Linked DNA regions of Homo sapiens: all the other regions are linked to region 4. Evidence: promoter capture Hi-C in human tissues and cell types (Jung and others, 2019). All regions are on one chromosome and are shown on one strand. Each heading gives the region's core, a stretch centred on a gene start or on the middle of the fragment in contact. The rest is flanking DNA. Distances are from core to core; before and after follow the strand shown. Region 1 has its middle 16 kb from the start of KCNB1. Region 2 overlaps B4GALT5 (beta-1,4-galactosyltransferase 5). Region 3 overlaps KCNB1 (potassium voltage-gated channel subfamily B member 1). Region 4 holds the start of SPATA2 (spermatogenesis associated 2).

Region 1 (5,165 bases), core at 1,838-4,337, 420 kb after region 4:
AGAAGTAGGGAGTGACCACTAATGAAACCTACTAAAATGGATCACTGTGATGGTTGTGAAATTCTGTGAATGTACTAGTAAATGGGCAATTTTTTTTTTTTTTTTTGAGACAGGGGTCACACTTTGTCACCCAGGCTGGAGTGCAGTGGTGTGATTTCAGCTCACTGCAACCTCTGCCTCTCAGGCTCTAGCTATCCTCCCACCTCAGCCTCCTGAGTAGCTGGGACTACAGGCCTGAGCCACCATGCCTGCCTGGCTAATTTTTGTTTTTGTATATTTTGATAGAGGGGGGTTTTGCCATGTTGCCCAGGCTGGTCTCAAACTCCTGGGCTCAAATGATCCTCCCTCCTCAGCCTCGCAAAGTGCTAAGATTATAGGTGTGAGCTGCTGTTCCTGGTCATGTGGGCAAATTTTATGATATATGAATTATACCTCAAGAAAGCTGTTATGCACTTTTTAAGTAAATATTTTGAGCACCTCTCATTGTACCAGGCACTGTTCTAGACAACAGGACCCGGCAGTGAGTAACACAGACCAAAAAAATGATATATCCCTGTCTTCACGGCGCTGACATTCTCATGGGAGAAACTGTAAGAAATGAGGCAAATAAGTAAAATATAAAGCAGTTCAAATGGAGATAAGTGCTTTGGAGAAGAATAAAGGAGTCAGGAGATGGGAAGTGAGATTTGAAAGAGAGTGAGCAGGAATGGCCTCCCTGGGGGAGCTTTGAACAGAAACTCGATGGAAATGAGAGGAGCAAACCACTGGGGCATCTGAGGAAAGAATGTTCTGGAGAGATGCAATGGCAAATGTGAAGATGGGAAGCTCTGGGGCAGGTTCTAGGAGCAGGAGGGAGGCAGTGTGGCCAGCAGCCACGGAAGGCTCTGGGCAGAGAAGGGCCATGGTTTAACTTGTATTCTAGGAGGATCCATCTCACCGTGCATGCTGAGGGCTGGGAAGCTGGAGACCAGGGAGGAAGGGACTGCACTAGTCCGGGCAAGGTCTCTGCCCTCATAGATTTCACATTTGGGCAGCAGAGGCCATCCAGTAAAGAAACAAATCAGCATAAATACAGTGTCAGATGCTGAGGACAAGCAAACAGCAGGAGGTGATGGATGCTGACACGGAGATGGATGTGCCTGTGGCCTTGGAGGCAGTCAGGAAAAGTCTCCAGGCAGGTGGCGATAGGAGTTGAGATCAAGATGAGAGATCGCAGCTTTGTAAAGAACTAGAGGAAGAACATTCCAGGAGAAAGAGACTACAAATCCAAAGAACTCTAAAGAGGCAAGGGGTTTGGTGTGCTGGAGAAAGAGAGCATCCCAGGAAGGCTGTGGCTGAGTGAGGGGGTGGCAGGAGCCACTCTGGGAGCAGACCTTGTCAGGAAGAGGAGGCTGGGCTTTATGCTAAGTGCCCTGGGAAGCCATGAGAGAGTTTAAGTAGGAAAGTAAATCACCATCATCCTTTAAATGGAATCAATTTAGCTTTATACAAATCTCATTCCATTGTCCCTGTTTTTTCTCATTCATTTCATGATGGACCAGTGAAAATGCAAACACGTTATTGGTCTGGCATTTGGGAGTCATGGCCATTTGAGACATGGTTCAGAGTGTGTGTCTGCAAGGATGGGAGGGTGATGAGTTGGGGAAGAGCTGGCAGTGTACTATCTTATTGCCCCAGGACCTTCCGTGGAGCTTCACAGTGGCCTGGGAGAGACAAGGCAGGTGCACCCATGCTATAGTTAGGATGTTTGACCTTTGCAAACCTCATGTTGAAATTTGATTCCCAATGTTGGAGGTGTGGTCTAATGGGAGGGGTTTGGGTCATGGGAGTTGATCCCTCATGAAAGGCCTGGTGCCCTCCCCATGGTAAGAAGTGAGTTCTCACTCTAGTAGTTCCTGCAAGAGCTGGTTGTTGAAAAGAGCCGGTGCCTCCCTTGCCTCTTTCTTGCTTCCTCTCTTGCCATGAGGTCTCTGCACACACGGGCTGCCCTTCCCCTTTCAGCATGAGTGGAAGCAGCCTGAGGCCCTCACCAGAAGCAGATGCCAGTGCCACATCTTGTATAGCCTGCAGAACATTGAGCCAAATAAGCCTCTTTTCTCTATAAATTATGCAGCCTTAGGTATTCCTTTATAGCAACACAAATGGACTAAGACAACTCACATTATGCAAATCTGGGAGATTGACCTTTGGGACATCTGGATCCTTGGGATGAACAGGGTCTGTATGTGACTTTATTTCAGGTGTTCTAAGAGCTGACCACTGCAGAAGAGACACTAATTGATTGGCCAACTTCCTCACTAGAAGAAACCCTGGCTTTCTTCAGATATTAGGCAGCCTTGTGCTCAAGAAAATGGGCCCAACCTCCAAATCAAGACAGGGCCAAGCCAAACATGGATATCAGGTTCCCCTTGCCAGTAACTGGGCTAGTGGTGGTCATGTGATCCAGTACTGACCAATGAGATGGCTGGGAAAATCAGTGGGGAGCTTCTGAAATATGGGAGATGTTCCTTCTTCCTCCCTCTCTGGGAGTTGTCATGTGAGAGGCTGAGCATGGCAGCCGTTTTGTGACGATGTGGACAAGAGACTCTCACAGAAATCAAACAAGGACCCTGAGATAGCTAGGCTGTTGCTGAGACAGGTCCTGGCATCACCTACTTCTGGATTTTGTGTTAAATGAGACCAATAAATGTCATACCTTTTTTATACTTTACTAAGAAGCCACAGTGGACAAGAGCTTGGGTTCTGAGTGGGCTTAAATCTCTGCTGAGCCACTTAATACCAGGGTGATTTGGGGGCATTTCTCTGTGCCCCAGCTTATTCACCTGTAAAATAGGATAATGGATAATAATACCGTCTCCCTCATAGGGTTCTTGTGAGCATTACATGAGTAAATATTGTCATTCATAGCCAGCGGAAGAAACAGAAAAATAAGTATTGTAGGTTAGTCTCATACAGTTTCCCAGAGGAAAGAGACATTAACTCAGACTATGGGAGGCAGGGAAGGTGATGCTGAATATGGGCTCTGAAAGGTGAATAGGAGTTCACCATGTGGGGTAAAGAAGATGGCTGGGGTTGGAGAAACATTCTAAGCTGTGGAAATAGCAGGAGCAAGGCCTCTGTATCAGATATCTCGTGCTGTGTAACAAACAACTCCAAGATGTAGTGACTTAACACAAAACTATTTTATTATTTCTCATGTCTTTGTGGATTGGCGCTTTTGGTTTGTGTTTTGAGATGGAATCTCACTCTGTTGCCCAGGCTGGAGTCTAGCAGCATGATCTTGGCTCACTGCAACCTCCACCTCCTGGGTTCAAGCAATTCTCCTGCCTCAGCCTCCTGAGTAGCTGGAATTACAGGTGCCTGCCAACACGCTTGGCTAATTTTTGTAATTTTTTTAGTAGAGACGGGGTTTCACCATGTTGGTCAGGCTGGTCTCAAACTCCTGACCTCAGGTGATCCACCAATCTTAGCCTCCCAAAGTGCTGGGATTACAGGCGTGAACCACAGTGCCCAGCCAGGTTGGCACTTTCTAAAAAGCTCATGAGAATGAATAGCTCTCATAAGAACTAATAGAAAGAGAATGGGGCTTATAGTTGGATGGTTCTGCTGCTGCTCTCACTTGGGGGTCTCTCATGCAGCTGCAGTCAGATGTTAGGTGAGGCTGGGACGTCCACGACGACTTCATTCATATGCCTGGTGCCTTGGTAGGTATGGCTGGAAGGCTGCATTCAGCTGTAACATTGGGAGGGCTGAGCCTCTGGTCTCTTTCCATGTAATTGCAGGGCTTCTCACTTTCCATGTGGTTTTTCCACATGGTCCCTTCCAGCAGGGTAGCCTGGCTGCCTACACAGTGGTTCAGAGCTCCCAAGAGCACAAAAGCAGAAGCTTCCCGACCCTTTCAAGGCTTAGGCCTGGAACTGGCATTACTGCCACCACATTCCACTGGTAAATGCAAGTCACAAGGCCAAGCCCAGAGTCAATGTGGAAGTGAGCTGAGCAAAGCATGGATACTAACAACAGTTTCCCTAGGGACTGGCTATCACTAAGCCGGAGGTTGGAAAGTTTTTGCTGAAATGCAGGAATGTGGAAAGGAGTGGTGGGTAAAGAAGCTGGAGAAACAGGGCAAGGGTCAGAAACTTGTTTCTGTGTCCTACCATCCCCAAGCTTGTGAGAGAGGAGAGGCACTGAGGAAATCTGTGTTAAATGAATGAACGGCCTTTGCCTTATCTTGGGAGTTTGCCCTTTGTCTCAGGCAATGAGTGGTGAAGACTTATAAATAGGGAGTGACATGGTCAGACTTGTGCCTTTAAAAGTCTACCCTAGTAGCTGGGGGGAGGTTGGATTGGAGGAGGGAGAAGACTTGGGGAAAGATCAGAGCGGAGGCAGATGAGATCAGGAATGGGTGGAAAAGGGCAATGGAGAGGCAGTAGGAGAGATATCAGTCCCCACAGGGCAGAAGAACTGGATTTTAATGAAACATTATCTTAGGAGGATCAGTTAATTAGCTCTTGATCTCTGTGGCTTTGATTTCCTCCTTTTGCTGACTCGCCTCCTTTCCATTGCGTCTTGGAGTTCCCAGGCTCCTCTGTGGGAAAGAGATATTAGTTTACCTCTAATTGCTCTGCTGGAAGCATGTGCCTCCATCCATCTCCACCCTATGGTGGAGTGGCTTGGTAGGGATGCCTGGAATGCTGCATTCAGCTGTAACATTGGGAGGGCTGAGCCTCTGTCTCTTTCCATGTAATTGCAGGGCTTCTCATTTTCCATGTGCATTTCATCATTGTTTGGCCACAGACCCTGGAAGTCAGTGGCTTTGAAGGTCCAGGCCACAAAGAGGCTCACTGGTTTATCTGTCTTCCTCTGTGGGGACCCTCTGATGGCACTCACCTTTCCTCCCAGGGAGGGAGCCCAAAACAACAAGCTAGGGATTAGCACAGAGCATCACTGCAAATGTTAGGTGGTAGATGGGTTGAGATGGCTGGGTGGGCAGATAGATACATGGATAGATTAGAAGGGTGGACGGATGGATGACTGGCGAGTGAGTGGTGGATAGATGCATGAATATTTGGGGTGGATGAGGGAGTAGTTGTGTGGGTGGGTGAATGGGCAGATAGATGGATGAGTGGAAAGACAGATGGTGTACGGATGGGTGGATAGATGGATAA
Region 2 (4,647 bases), core at 2,124-4,623, 280 kb after region 4:
GTGACTGTTGTCTTAGTTAGATCTTAAAAATAAAACAAGACAAAACTAAAAACCACTCTTTGTACTAGATTTGGTTTATGAACAGTTAGAGATTGGTTGATGTGCTGAAGAGCAAGTGGTAAGGAGTAGAAATGGTAGTGTTGTCTCTTCCCTTTGTGGAGCGGGGTACTCTTCTAAATGCTGGTACACGGTTGCATTTCTGCCTTCAGTAGCCTTGGGAGAGAGAAGCTTGCGTTTGCTATCACTTACATTTTTAAAGAAATTGGGGCCAGAGGTCCAGTGACTTTTTCTTTTTCTTTTTTTTGGAGATGGAGTCTTGCTCTGTCGCCCAAACTGGAGTACAATGGTGCGATCTTGGCTCACTGCAGCCTCCGCCTCCCGGGTTCAAGCTATTCTCCTACCTCAGCCTCCCAAGTAGCTGGGATTACAGGCATGCGCCACTACGCCTAGCTAATGTTTTTGTATTTTCAGTAGGGATGGGGTTTCACCATGTTGGCCAGGCTGGTCTCGAACTCCTGATCCGCCCACCTTGGTTTTCCAAAGTGCTGGGATTACAGGCGTGAGCCACTGTGCCCATGCCAGAGGTCCAGTGACTTCTGAGCCACACTGTGAGTTGATTTGTGGTGTTGGACCTGGTTACACTAGCCCAGTGATCTTTTCCAGTTGGTTCTAATAAACTCGTCTTTAGGCACAGGAAAGACAGCAAAGATTTTCCTTCAAGATTCTTTTAAAGATAAAGTTCTGTTTCTTTTAGGTTGGTACCCAACCCTTTAATCGAGCCATGCTTTTCAACGTTGGCTTTCAAGAGGCAATGAAAGACTTGGATTGGGACTGTTTGATTTTTCATGATGTAGATCACATACCGGAAAGTGATCGCAACTATTATGGATGTGGACAGATGCCGAGGCATTTTGCAACCAAATTGGATAAGTATATGTATCTGTGAGTATCATTTCTTCTTAATTAAAGAGGTTAAATCTGAAAGGATGGTGAGCGATGTGAAAAGGAAATCTAATTAGCTGCAACCTAGATGCCCATCAACTGATGGATGGATAAACAAAATGTGTGTATCCATACAATTGGAGCACTGTTTGGCAGGAGAAAGCAATGAAATACTGATACGTGCCAAAACACGGATGAACTTCGAAAACATTACGTTAAAGAAGCCAGACACAAAGGTTGTGTATCATATGATTCCAGGTGTCTGAAATGTCCAGAATAAGCAAATCTATAGTGACAGAAAGTAGATAAATGGTTATAAGGGGCTAAGGAGGATAGGAGGAGCAGGGGGTGATTGCTAATGGGTGCAAGGCTTTGCGGGGGACAGTGATGAAACATGTTAATATAGATTGTGGTCATGGTTGCACAATTCAGTGAATAAACTAAAACCATTGAATGATATACTCTAAATGGGCCAATTGTGTATGGGTATGTCAATTATATCTCACTAAAGCTATTAAAAATCAGTTTGCAAAAATTAATTTTGCTAATTTGATACATTCATATGGTTCAGGTCAGGAGCACAGAGAGCACTGTTTTTAGTCCTCAAATGAGAACCTTCTAGGGAAAACAGTTACCCTGTAACACACAGATGATTGATGTCCCACATCTCCTCCTAGGCTTCCTTATACCGAGTTCTTTGGCGGAGTGAGTGGCTTAACAGTGGAACAATTTCGGAAAATCAATGGCTTTCCTAATGCTTTCTGGGGTTGGGGTGGAGAAGATGACGACCTCTGGAACAGGTACCTCTGCCGTTCTTTCGGTGTCTTCTAGAAATGCTACCTTAGACTGCAGACCAATACTATCCGATAGGAATATAATGCAAGCCATGTGTGTAATTTAACATGTTCTAGTAGCTACAGTTTAAAAGGTTAAGGAAAAAAATGAAATTGACCAGCTGTGATGGCTCACACCTGTAATCCCAGCACTTTGGAAGGCCGAGGTGGGAGGATCACTTGAGCCCGGGAGTTCGAGGCCACAGAGAGCTGTGCCACTGCACTCTAGCTTGGGTGACAGAGTGAGACCTGTCTTAAAAAATACACACACACACACACACACACCACACACATCCAAGTTTTTAGAAAATATCTTTAATCTTAATTTAAAAATATCTTAATATCTTAAAAAACAAACTGTATATCCCAACAAAGCAGCTATTTTCATTTTTCTCCTTTGACATGCGAAAATCAACAAATTATAATTTAGCAATTTTTTCTTCTAATAAATAATACGTTCATTATAAAATACAAATGAGTATAAAAATAAATTACCCACAACAATAAGTAACATGTTACCATTTCATTGAGTTTATTTTGTGTTTAAAAAGTGGCAAGTGAACAGTAATTTAAAATCTCTGTGTGTCAGTTTTTAAAATCACAAATCTCAGGATTGTGAGGATTAAATGATGTAATGTGTATAGAGCTCTGGCATATCTGATATGTGATAAGCTCTCAATAGGTGTTACTGTTTTTATATCAACATTAAATACTCTGTAAACAGGATCTTAAGTGGCTCCATTTAATTCGGTTATATAGATGTACTGTAATTTATGTAACTATTTCCTGGTGTATATTTAGAATCTTTTCCATTTTCCACTATTTAGAGTGTGATATAGTAGATAATTCTTTTGCCTGTTATTCCTATTTAGGAAAAATTCCTATAAGCGAATGTAGTCATTTTAAGGCTCTTTTTTTTTTTAAGCTCTGTCCTTTAATGGATGCAAATAGGGTTTTTAAGGCATATTATAACTAAGTGCCCCTCCTGCTAAAGGTTCTAACAAAACTTTTCACTTCACCAGTGTTCTCTGTACTAAATGCCCATTTCATTGGAACCACTCCAAACTGAAGGGTGGAATATTAGTGATATGTCTACATAGATTTAGCTGCGCCATCACATAAGGCTTGTACTGTACAAGCTTGGGTGAACAATCCTGTGTGTGAGTGGAATAAAGTAATATTTTTATGGAGTAAGTAAACAGTAACCTCATAAGGAACAAATGCAAAATACTACCTGGTATCTGTTTCCTTTGTAGCTTGGCTTTTGAAAAGTATGTGTTTGTTGTTAATTACAAGGACTATTTTGCTAATAAAAATTCAAATGATAGGCTGAGCACTGTGGCTCACACCTGTAATCCCACCTCTTCACAAGGCCTAGGCTTGAGGATCACTTGAGCCCAGGAGTTCAAGACCAGTCTGGGCAACAGTGAGACCTTGTCTCTACAAAAAATAAAAAAAATTAGCCTGTTGTGGTGGCACACGCCTGTAGTCCCAGCTACTCAGGAGGCTGAGATGGGAGGACTAATTGAGCCTGGGAGATTGAGGCTGCACTGAACCATGATCACCTCACTGTACTCCAGCCTGGGCAACACAGTGGACCCTGTCTCTTAAAAAAAAAAAATTAGATGATACAAGTGTCTAAGTATTAATCCCCATTTTGATTCTATTTTATTCCCTGGAAGTAACCATTTCTTTCCGTACTTTTCTTTTCTTTTTTGAGACAGATTTTCTTTCTGTTACCCAAGCTGGTGCAATTTTGCTCACTGCAACCTTTGCCTCCCGGGTTCAAGTGATTCTCCTGTCTCAGCCTCCTGAGTAGCTGGGATTACAGACCTGCACCACCACGCCTGGCTAATTTTTTTTTTTTTTTTTAAGTAGAGATGGGGTTTCACCATTTTGGCCAGGCTGGTCTCGAACTCCTGACCTCAAATGATCTGCCCACCTCGGCCTCCCAAAGTGCTGGGATTACAGGCACGAGCCACCTAGCCCAGCCTATTTTTTCCGTTCACATAAAAACTTTAATTCAGTTAAAATTGAGTTTTAACTCAGTTTTTAAGAAATGACACAATGAGTCAGTTAAGCGGGTGAGAGCTTTTGCTGTGTGTGATTTCCAGGGTAAGCTTGTAACATGTCTTGTAGGCTTTGGTCACTCCTGGGCTATTACCGTTGTATCTAAAAGCCTGTTCTCTTGGTCTTGGACAGAGTACAGAATGCAGGCTATTCTGTGAGCCGGCCAGAGGGTGACACAGGAAAGTACAAGTCCATTCCTCATCACCATCGAGGAGAAGTCCAGTTTCTTGGAAGGTTGGTGGAATTTATCTCTGTCTCTTAGAAGTATCCCCTATACTTTCATGTCCGGATATCTTAGAGCATATTACAGCCCCTTCTCCTACTCCCCACCCCGAGGCCCTGTTCTGACAGCTGTTTGACAGCTGTTGCATGTATTCTAACTCTGAGGCAGAACAGTGTGGGGATCAGACCGTTGGTGAACATTTTCAATAGTAAGATTCTTCGAAGGAAATCACTTGTCCTATGTCTTCAGCCTTGTGGTCTCCACAGTAGCCTTTGGGGAATTTGGGAAGAAACAGCTTGGATGAAGGTCCCTGAGGTGACAGAGCAGTGGCGCCCTTTCCGCAGGCTCCCGTTCCGAATGGTGTCCTGAGCTTCTGTCTGGGTGGCTGCAGTTGCTGTGTTACCTTTTCTTTCTTTGTGTGTGTGTGTGTGTGTGTGTGTGTGTCTTTTCTAAATTGTGGGGAAGACTGTGCTCTAGACAACCAATTCTAATTGCTGAAATTCTGTTTTCATGGGAGTAAAATGGCACTGAATACAGAGTATGAACTTTCTCATCTGTTGTATTTTTAATGCTTTACCT
Region 3 (4,922 bases), core at 1,301-3,800, 490 kb after region 4:
GGTACATGCCCTCTGAGATTTTATGTTCTGGTCTTTTTGGTCATAGATTGCCACCAAATGTTCTATAAACCTGAACAAACTATGCTTCCTCTTCAGGCCTCAGTTTTACCATCTGTAAAATGGGTGGGCTGGATCCACCCATTTGCCATAGAATTTCTACTTCTGCTTTCAGCCCAACAGTAAAATGAGCACAAGTGTCTCATACAATGCAGACTTCTAAATTCTGTCCCTCAGGGGATAGCAAGGGTGGGCTCTTCCTAGCTGCTCAGGATAGTCGAAGGGGACAGATCAAAAAAGGCAGTCCGTCTGGGATAGCCATGTGGACGGGAATGAGCTACCTTCCCCCTCACCTCCACGTCTTCTGGAACTTAATGATAACATCATCCCCACGCAGCTCCTGGCCTAATTGGCATGATTCCATTACATCTGCTGGTTCTTTCCCATAACGGAACCCAGCCTGGTGGTCCAGACCCGACTGCTGGGCCACAGCTGAGAAAAGGGCCCCCCGGGAGTGTGTGTTCCTCACGAAGAACAAAGATGTAGGCAGCAGCCTAAAATAGACACGGAAAAACACTGCTTTTTGTTTTCTCCCTGGAAGGGTGGCTGAGTGATTCGCGGCAGGGAACCCAGAAGGTCTGCATTGAAAACACTGTTATTATAAGACAGTCAGGAGGGACTGGAAGCTGCGGGTGCTGAGGGAAGACACCCTCTCTCACCACTGCATGCACTCTGGGCTGGAGTTGGATCCCAGGAGAACCCTGAACCAGACTTAATATCCAGAATAATCCTCACTCCCACTGCCCCACACCATTGCCAACTCTGGCAGGTCCTTTCCCATGGCTCCCTGTTACCCTTAGGATAAAGTCAAAGTGACTTAGCAAGGCATTCAAAGCTCCCCAGGTTCTGGCTTTAAGTGAGTTTACTGGCCTCTTCCCACTGCAGGTTATTCATTGGAAATCCCAGAACTTGTTCTGCATTTTCCTGCTTCTGGGCCTTTGCTTACCCAACACCTTCACCTACCATGCCTGGATGAATCCAGAATCTTGATTCTAACTGATCGTAGCAAAAAAAGAGGAAGGCAGAAGGGACTGATTGGCTTATGTAACTGAAAAGCCCAGGGGTACACGCCTTCAGGCTCAGCTGAATCAAGTTGCTCAAATTATGTTCTAAGGTTTCTGTTTTCCTCCATCACCTGGACCTTTTTTCCTTTGTGTTGGCATCCTCGCAGGCAGCTCCCCAAGTCATAGCAAAAATGGCTCTCAGCAGCCCCAGGCTTGTATCTAACCAGCCCAGCAGCTCCAGTGGGTACCAGTAGTTCCTAAGAGCTCTGTGGTTGACATGCATTGGCCTGGATTGCATCATATGGCCATCTCTGAGCCAACCACTGTGGTCATGAACCACATGCCCATACCTGGAGCCATTTCCTGGGGATCAGAAGAGGGATGGTGCCAGGGAAAAATCAGGGAGCTGTTACAGATAAAGAGCAAGTAGATACTGGGCAGTTAAAAGCAAGTGTTCACAACAATGCCCATAGCTCTGGCCCACACTCAGCCAATTCCAACTTTAAGCAAATTTCACCGGGAAACAAATACCTGGGGGAAGAATGGTTAGAAACTCTTCTGGGCAAGACTCATCCTCTGGTCTTGGTTTACTCACCCGAGAACAAAAAAGGTTAGACTTGAAGCTTTGTCCGAGGTCTTTCCTGCTTTGACATCAAGTGAATTGCAGCAAAACAGCCCTTCCTTGTCTCCCAAATTTCTGATCGAAGAGACCTAGTGAGTCAGATCAAGGAATGGACTGTCATTAAAGGCCAGAAAAAGCTCTTTTTTAAGTTTCCACTTATTGTGTTCTATTTCCTAGGCTCTGTGTTAAGCATTTTTCCAGGTACATTGTTTTGTTCAGTTCGCACATTAACTCTCTGAGATTCCATACTACATGTGAGGAAACTGAAGCTGTGAACACTGAAGTGAGTGAGGATTGCAGCCCCATCGGCCTGACTCTTAACCACTATGCCACACTCTTTCCATCCCAAACCAAAGACCCTTAGAGACCTCGGATTAGAGACTTGGGCTGCAAGCCCAAAGACTCCCATAGGTAGAACATGGCCACATAAATGAATGAAGAGGTCCACATAGGGCCTTTGGCACTGGAATGCTCATGCCTCAGCCAGTTGCTTTTACAGATGCAGAATGCACAGCTTAATATTTTTCTTTGTTTTCTTTTCTTTTCTTTTTTTTTTTTTTTTTTTTTTGAGACAGGGTCTCACTCTGTCTCCCAGGATGGAGTGCAGTAGCATGATCATGGCTCACTGCAGCTTCAACCTCCCAGCCTCAAGTGATCCTCCCACCTCAGCCTTCCAAGTAGCTGGGACTACAGGTACATGCCCCCACACACAGCTAATTTTTGTATTTTTTGTAGAGACGAGGTTTTGTCCTGTTGGCCAGGCTGGTCTCAAACTCCTTGGGCTCAAGTGATCCACCCTCCTCAGCCTCTCAGAGTGCTAGGATTACAGGCATGAGCCACCACACCCAACCTTAGTTTTTCGAGATAAATTGAAAATTTGCATTCTAAAACAAAATCTCTCAACTTTATAACTGTTAGCAACTTGCTCAGTTCTTGAAACACTATGTAAACCAAACAAAACAGGTCTGTGAGTTAGATTCAACTTACAGGCCACCAATTTTCAGCTTGTCTCTCTTTGCTTCGTACGGATGGGGGAAACTAAGTCACAGATATATGTCATATTATACATAATATATATATATATATATATTTGGCCTTATCACTGAGGCTGAATTAGGTGCTTTCTCCTAGGGTGGTCTTGGTAGTGTGTCTCTGAGAAGGTGACATATGAGCAGAAACCTAAAGGGAGAGCTTCCCTTCTGGGGGAAGAGCTTTCCAGGCAGATGGAGGAGCAAGTGCAAAGGCTCTGAGGCAGAAAAGCAACTGTATGTTTGAGGAACAGCAGTAAGACTAGTGAGCTAGAGTAGAATAAGAGAGGGGGAGTGAAAGGGGATGAGGACGGGATAACCAAATCCACTTCTACATAGGGCCTGTAGGACCCAGGTTCTAATTAAAATGAACAACTGAGAGGACAAGGTGATGAATGGATTTATGAATGAATGAATGGATTCCAAGCTGCTTTCATGGGATATTCGTATTTGGTGTTAGTGTGTGGGTGTGGCTGATTCGCCCTAGGTTCTGAAGTCTTCAGAATTATCCTGGAAGATGATCTTGGTTACCTTCCCAAGTTGCTGTCAGTCTTCAGAGGTTGTGACACTTGGATAGAAGCCTCAAATTGGGCAGGGCCTCTGGGAGAGCAACTATGAGACAGACAAACCAAGAAGAACCAAGGCAGGAAGAGATGGTGCTCACCAAAATACCCATCACGCCAAGTGTGCTCATTCCCACCAGCCAGGGACCCCAGGCTTCCATAGAGTACTGTGACCTGGACAGTGAGCCCATGAATCTCCCTTGTCACCAAGTCCTCACATCCCTCCCATCAATCCCTGGCAAACCCATTGGGGATGCCGTGCAGGGGGCCTGCTCCTGTCCTCGGCCGCACTCAGCCTGTGAGACTATTTTGTGCCTTGGTTCAGGCACTGGCATCCCAGCTGCTGGCAAGCGACTCAGATGGCGTTGTCATGGCGACCCTCAGGCACGGATTTCCAGAGATGCTCCCTGCATCCTCCCGAGCCTGCCACTGCTGATTGCTGGGGGAGAGCATGACTCACCGTTAAATATATCACGGTCGTCCCAAATTGGCTGCTCAGCCCCAGCAGCCGGATGTAGGGACAGGCAGCATCTGGGGGTGTGTGGGTTTGGGAAGCTGAGAGGCATGACCTTCTGTGTACCTTTGGGGCCTTCAGCTCCTGTCATTTCCAGCGGTTCTCTTCTCCAATCCCCTACTCATCTCTCCTTCCTTTCCCAATCGGTCTGGGTAACAGTCCTAGCTTTGTTACTTGTTAGCTGTGTGATCTTGAACAAGAAGCTTCAATTCTCTGGGCCTCAAAGTCCTCATCTGTAAAACAGGGGTGATGTGAGTATGACGGAAGAACTACGAAGGGTCCGAGATTTTGCACTGCTCACAAGCTAATGAGTTAGCCTGCCACAATGCCATACATGACGGCAGAAGACACGAGATCCCAGGTCAGAGACAAAGGACTTTATTAGTCACAGTATAGCAAGCAGCACAAGCTTCATATTTGCGTCAGTTCTAATTGTCTCCCAAGTTCCATGAGAGCAATGAAAACAACCCAAATGGATTCTGCACACACAGCAGCAGATCTGTGTCTCAATGGAGGATCCCAGAGCTTAGGAAACCTGCAATCTTATAAAGGGGCTATTGCCAAACCTGTCTAGCCTTTGCCTCAGATAGAGACATTATTGTACTGGTTGGGAAACAACTCTATCCTCTTCTTTCTGCTCCAGAGAGAGATATTGTCTCTGTCCTCCAAGTGTGTTTGCTACACAGATGTCCTTGAGATGATAGTCTAGAACAAAGGTCTCAGTGTCTTTTGAGCTGAAGACATGCAGACCTTGGAGAGACCCATGGAGAATTATCTCCCAATACCACTTCAAAGGGCTTCTTGGAGGAGCAGATGGGTTCATACCTGTAACATGCTCTGTATAGTTGCCTGGCATGTGCCTGGCACTTAATCAGTGTTAGCACTTGTCATTATTACTCTCAGCTTTTATCACTTGTCAGCTAGTAGGAACTCAGAGGCCTCCTGTTCTGGGATTTCCCCAGTTAGGTGACTAAGAAAATCACAGCTTCTATCCTTTCCAGCCAGTACATATCCATTTATCTCCTATGCCCCATGAAGCTCTAACAACTCCACCCTCCACCCCTTGTCCCCTCCCTCTGACTCCCCTCTGTTCTTTTTTTTTTTTTAAATAGCTTTATACCATAAAAAATTTTA
Region 4 (4,896 bases), core at 2,270-4,769:
AGATCCGCCTGCCTCGGCCTCCCAAATTGCTGGGATTACAGGCTTGTGCCACTGAGCCCAGCCACAGGTAGCCGAGTTTTTGATCTCAGGTCCTTGCCTTTGATTGCTCCCTTTACTCCAGCTGGAAGGAAAGCTGGACAGCCTCACATGTCCAGGTCACTCAAAGCCCAGCTCAAATGCTACTTCCTCCTGGAGGCTATCCTTCATTTACCCTGTCAGAGGTCACTTCTCCATGCTCTAAGCTCTATACCCCTCTCATATCATTTACCATCTTCTATCCTGAATTCTAGGGTTTTATTAATCCTACTCCTATGTTATGAATATTCTCTTTCGGTTAAGGAGACTGGATGCTCTGTGAGGGCAGGAACTGTGTCTGTCTCACTCACAGTTATGCCCTTTAAACCTAACATCAGGGTGGGCATGGTGACTCATGCCTGTAATCCCAGCACCTTGGGAAGCCAAGGTGGGAGGATCACTTGAGCCCAGGAGTTTGAGAGCAGCCTTGGCAAAATTGCGAGACCCTCCCTCTACAAAACAGTTAACAAAATTAGCCAGATGTGGTGGTGTGCAACTGTGGTCCCCGCCACTCAGGAGGCTAAGGTGGGAGGATCGCTTGAGCCTAGGAGGTTGAGGCTGCAGTGAGCTATGATCATGCCACTACACTCCAGACAGGGTGACAGAGTGAGAGACCCTGTCTCAATTAAAAAAAAAAAATCTGACATCAAACTTGGCACATGGTAGGTATTCAGTGAAAATTCTGGTCAGAAACAAATTATGTTGAACAACCTATTGCATGCTAGGTAGTGCATATATGTCAGGTAGTAGTAATATAATTGTGAACAAAACAGACATAGTTTTGTCCTCATGGAGTTCACTGACTTCTGGGGGAGAAAGATATTAATACAGATCACATAAATGTGTGTTTGTGGAATGAAAGACAGATATCTGTATCTGTGTTCCTGTCCCCAGTTGACTTTTTTTGTTTTGTTTTTTTGAGACAGAGTCTCACTCTGTAGCCCAGGCTGGAGTGCAGTGGTGCCATCTCGGTTCACTGCAACCTCTGCCTCCCAGGTTCATGCCATTCTCCTGCCTCAGCCTCCCGAGTAGCTGGGACTACAGGCACCCGCTACTGCGCCTGCTACCACACCCGGCTAATTTTTGTATTTTTAGTAGAGACAGGGTTTCACTGTGTTAGCCAGGATGGTCTCGGCCTCTTGACCTCGTGATTTGCCCACCTCGGCCTCCCAAAGTGCTGGGATTACAGGCGTGAGCCACCGCGCCTGGCCATGCATCACCCTTTTTAAGTGATCCACAGTATTTGTTAGTATGGATATACCATTACCCCAGTGATGGAGATTTAAATATTTCCTATTATTGCTTTTGCATTAGAAACAATGATGCAAGAGGTCTCTTTGGGCACAGTGTATGTTTCTCTAGCAGATTTTGAGAAATCCAATTGCTGGGTCATGGGGTAGCTTTTCTGTTTTGCTTTTTGTTCTATACTCCTCTGTATTGTTGGAATCATGTATTACTTTGGTGATGGAAAAAAAAACTAAAAAATAGAAAGAGGTAGGTAGATTGTTCGTGTTGTTGGCTCTTCGGAAGTAGAAGTGCCTAATCATTGTCACGTGACCCTTACATAATCTGGTAATCATTATATAATAAAGTCGGGAAAGGACGCTCCTGTCATTTCTACATCACCAAGTAGAGAAATCACAAGCCTTCAACTGTGTTTAAAAGATGAGAAACATGGCCGGACACAGTGGCTCAGGCCTGTAATCCCAGCACTTTGGGAGGCCGAGGTGGGCGGATCACGAGGTCAAGAGATGGAGACCATCCTGACCACCTTGGTGAAACCCCATCTCTACTAAAAATACAAAAAATTAGCCAGGCGTGTTGGCGCGTGCCGGTAGTCCCAGCTACTCCGGAGGCTGAGGCAGGAAAATGGCGTGAACCCAGGAGGCGGAGCTTGCAGTGAGCTGAGATTGTGCCACTGCACTCCAGCCTGGGTGACAGAGCGAGACTCCGTCTCAAAAAAAAAAAAAAAAAAAAAAAAAACTGAGAAATGTGACTGTCTTTGGAGACTTTGGGTCTTTTCTGATAGTAGATGATGACCAGGGTTTCCTACTGGTAAAGCCCTTCTTCAAAATCTTTGTTTCTCTTTTGCCTGTCATAGACCCACAGAGCTGGAGGGGACTTTTTTAAGCAGCCCCACGTGAAAATGCAATATTGTAAGAGCTACCAAACCAGAGTGCTGAGTTGCTGTAAGAGGCAGACTTAAGGTGGGACAGTTTGTCTCAGATGGAATTCCTGTGAACATCATCACATTGCAGATAATTAAGAGAGGAGCTTAAACATGAGCTGATAAAGAACACAGGGACTTTGAGCGGTGCTCAGGCAACGACAGGTAAACACAGTAATGCTACTGTTTGGACAGCAGCAGATTGCTGGTTCTCCAAACGTTTCCCAGTATTGTGTCACTGACTCATCACACAAGCCCCACCGGTTTTAGCTGGGGTCACCAAGACTCAGAGTGAGAATCCTACAATCAATGAACATCTGTTGTGTGCCTCCTCATCAGACATGTGCAGAGCTCGGGGGGAAATAGATGAATAAGAAGCTCAGGGTCTGGTGGGGATGTCAGATTATATATATATATAGTTTATCCGAAAGTGCTGGGATTACAGGCGTGAGCCGCCGTGCCCGGCTTTTTTTTTTTTTTTTTTTTTTTTTTTTTTTTAAGAGACGTGGCCTCGTTATGTTGCCCAGGTTGGTCTCGAACACCTGGGAGCAAGCCATCCTCTCGCCTCAGCCTCCCGACTAGCTGGGACTACAGTCGCGTGCCACCACGCCTGGCTTTATTATTTAATATTACAGGTTAGAAAGCTGAGGCTCAGAGAGGTTAGGTAACTTGTCCAAGGTCACACAGCTAGTAAGTGGCAAAACTAAAAATAGAACCCACGCTCTTAACCGCCGCCCACGGCCCGTAACACCCGCAGCCCTAGCAAGGCTGGATTCCAATCACGCGTGATTTCAGCATCTCACTGGCTCTCTTTGAGCCTCGGTACTTCTGTCCGTAAAATGGGGGCGAGGGATCCGACCGTCAGCCCCTGCTTGCTTGTGCGGAGTCATGAGTACAGCTCGTGGATCATGATAAGTGGCAGGTCCGGGAAGTGGAGGCCGAGTTCACGCAGTCAGCACTCATAGCTCCCAGCTCCCTGCTCCTGAGCGGTTTCCATGACAACCCGGCCAGCCACCATCCCTAGGCCGAGCGGCTTGCGTCACGTCCGGCCTGTTTACTTCCGGGTCCCAGTCTCAGACGCAGCGATGGCTCGTTAGGCTCCAAAGTGCGGTTCCGCCGGTTTCGTCCTCGCTCTTCGGCCTTCCGCTTTGTCCTCCGCCTCTGGGTTGTAGTCTCCGTCGGCCGCGGGCATCGACCGCTTCCCGGAGCCAGCGCGCAGCCGTGGTCCACCCTCTCTTCGGGCCCGCCTCATGGTGACATCATTTCCGGGCCGAGTGTTTCCGGGTCGCTGCTGGCCCCCGGGTACTGGTCTCAGTACCCCTGCAGCCGGCCGGAGAGGCTAGAGCCCGACGGGGCCCGGCTCCGGCGGCAGCCGCGCCTCTCGCTTGCTTCCCTCGGCCGGGCCGTCCTCGGCGGCAGTGTCAGGGTGAGTGACGGGCGGCCGCGGGCGGAAACTGCCTTCGGGGCTTCCCCAGGCGGAGGGGGCGCCAGACAGCGGCAGGGCTCGGCTGGCCCGGGAGCGGGGTACCCTCACGGCAGGCAGGACTACAGGTGGGCCCGCTGTTTCGGCGCTCCCGGGACCCCCAGCCTATCCTCAGGACCCCCATTCTCCCGGGAGCTGCCTCGCAGGCTCCTGGGACCCGCCGAGGGTGGCTCAGGGCCGCCCAAGAGGAACACCCCTCTTCGGCGACTGGCCAAACAGAAGGACACCCCGATTTCGCCACGAGGCAGTTACCGCGCAGGGGTTCCCAGTTCAGGCTCTGGCGGCACACCTGGGTTTGTACTCACTGTGTGACCTTGGATAAGTCACTTCATCTTAAGAGCCTCAGTTGCCTATTTAAGTGATTGAACCTGGTTGCTAGGGCTGGAGTGGAGATGGAATGAGATCATGCAGGGCCTCTGGCATACAGCAGGCGTCCAATAAGTGATAGTTCCTGTTACTTCATTCAATTCACGAAGCCGTAGGGGGGGCCAGAATTTGAGACTGGGCTGTTTTTCACAACTGACGTGGCCCCCCGAGGCTGTAGGAATGACCGAGCTGGGACTTAGCAGCCGCCAGCTTCTGTCCCCTGCAGGGAGGGAAACAGCTTCCTTCAGAGCTTCTCCGAGAGAGGCAGCTGCCACTAGGGAAGCTTCTTTCAGCACCGCTGAGGTTATTTTCAGAGGTTTGGAAGGACTCTGTGTGAATTTCTTTGGAATCTAGTAGGAGTGTGGGGACCTTCTGGTGTTTCACAGCCAGTGGAAGGTGCCTTGGATGTTTCTCGGAGCCTCTTGCTTGGAACGAGTGCATTGGTGTGGGTGGGGAGGTGGAGGGGGTTGAACTGACTTCCCCGTCTCCTGTTTGGAGGCTGATGGAGCTAGACCAGGGATGTGTAAACCTGTGGACAGGGGCAGTGCACAGACCAAAATAGGTCTGCCTGTGCAGAGAGGGGGCGCCTTCAAATGCTGCTTGGGGAACATTTCTGCTTGAATGGGCCAGCTGAGGTAAAGCCAAGCTAATGCTTAGCTACTCGGAATCACTTCACTTCCATGCAGTGGGACTCTAAACAGATACAGCTTTCCTCTTAGATGTTCAAAAAATAACTAAAGAAGCCACTGGCTCCCTGACTGTGCAATATCTCTTTTTCCATTGACTTGCTTTTCAAGAAGGTACC

What was found. The method cuts DNA at HindIII sites, captures the fragments that hold promoters and counts their contacts. A contact is called where the count stands out against the background at its distance.
Region 1: a contact is called between a fragment that was not itself captured here and the fragment with the promoter of SPATA2 in region 4, in 1 of the 25 tissues and cell types used here (lymphoblastoid cells).
Region 2: a fragment that was not itself captured here is called in contact with the fragment with the promoter of SPATA2 in region 4 in 1 of the 25 tissues and cell types used here (dorsolateral prefrontal cortex).
Region 3: a fragment that was not itself captured here is called in contact with the fragment with the promoter of SPATA2 in region 4 in 1 of the 25 tissues and cell types used here (lymphoblastoid cells).

What each region holds. Positions count from the first base shown.
Region 1 is chr20:49,496,192-49,501,356 of GRCh38, reverse strand. No RefSeq gene overlaps it. Among named protein-coding and RNA genes, the nearest start is that of KCNB1, 16 kb to the right of the region's middle. The HindIII fragment of the contact is 4,348 bases long and covers 914-5,165 here.
Region 2 is chr20:49,636,773-49,641,419 of GRCh38, reverse strand. It overlaps B4GALT5 (beta-1,4-galactosyltransferase 5), which reads left to right. Exons shown (of 9, transcript NM_004776.4): 6 at 755-942; 7 at 1,620-1,742; 8 at 3,978-4,079. Among named protein-coding and RNA genes, the nearest start is that of PTGIS, 71 kb to the right of the region's middle. RefSeq lists an enhancer at 4,416-4,647. The HindIII fragment of the contact is 3,603 bases long and covers 1,572-4,647 here.
Region 3 is chr20:49,423,502-49,428,423 of GRCh38, reverse strand. The region is part of intron 1 of KCNB1 (potassium voltage-gated channel subfamily B member 1); the gene reads left to right. It overlaps LOC105372649 (a long non-coding RNA gene), which reads right to left. Exons shown (of 4, transcript XR_001754659.2): 3 at 1,657-1,772. Among named protein-coding and RNA genes, the nearest start is that of KCNB1, 57 kb to the left of the region's middle. RefSeq lists enhancers at 3,121-3,644, 3,645-4,168. The HindIII fragment of the contact is 6,547 bases long and covers 1-4,922 here.
Region 4 is chr20:49,914,152-49,919,047 of GRCh38, reverse strand. It overlaps SPATA2 (spermatogenesis associated 2), which reads left to right and starts at 3,519. Exons shown (of 3, transcript NM_006038.4): 1 at 3,519-3,668. It overlaps LOC105372653 (a long non-coding RNA gene), which reads right to left and starts at 3,226. Exons shown (of 3, transcript NR_134564.1): 1 at 2,963-3,226. RefSeq lists enhancers at 3,478-3,537, 4,332-4,501 and a silencer at 3,568-3,817. The HindIII fragment of the contact is 5,477 bases long and covers 1-4,896 here.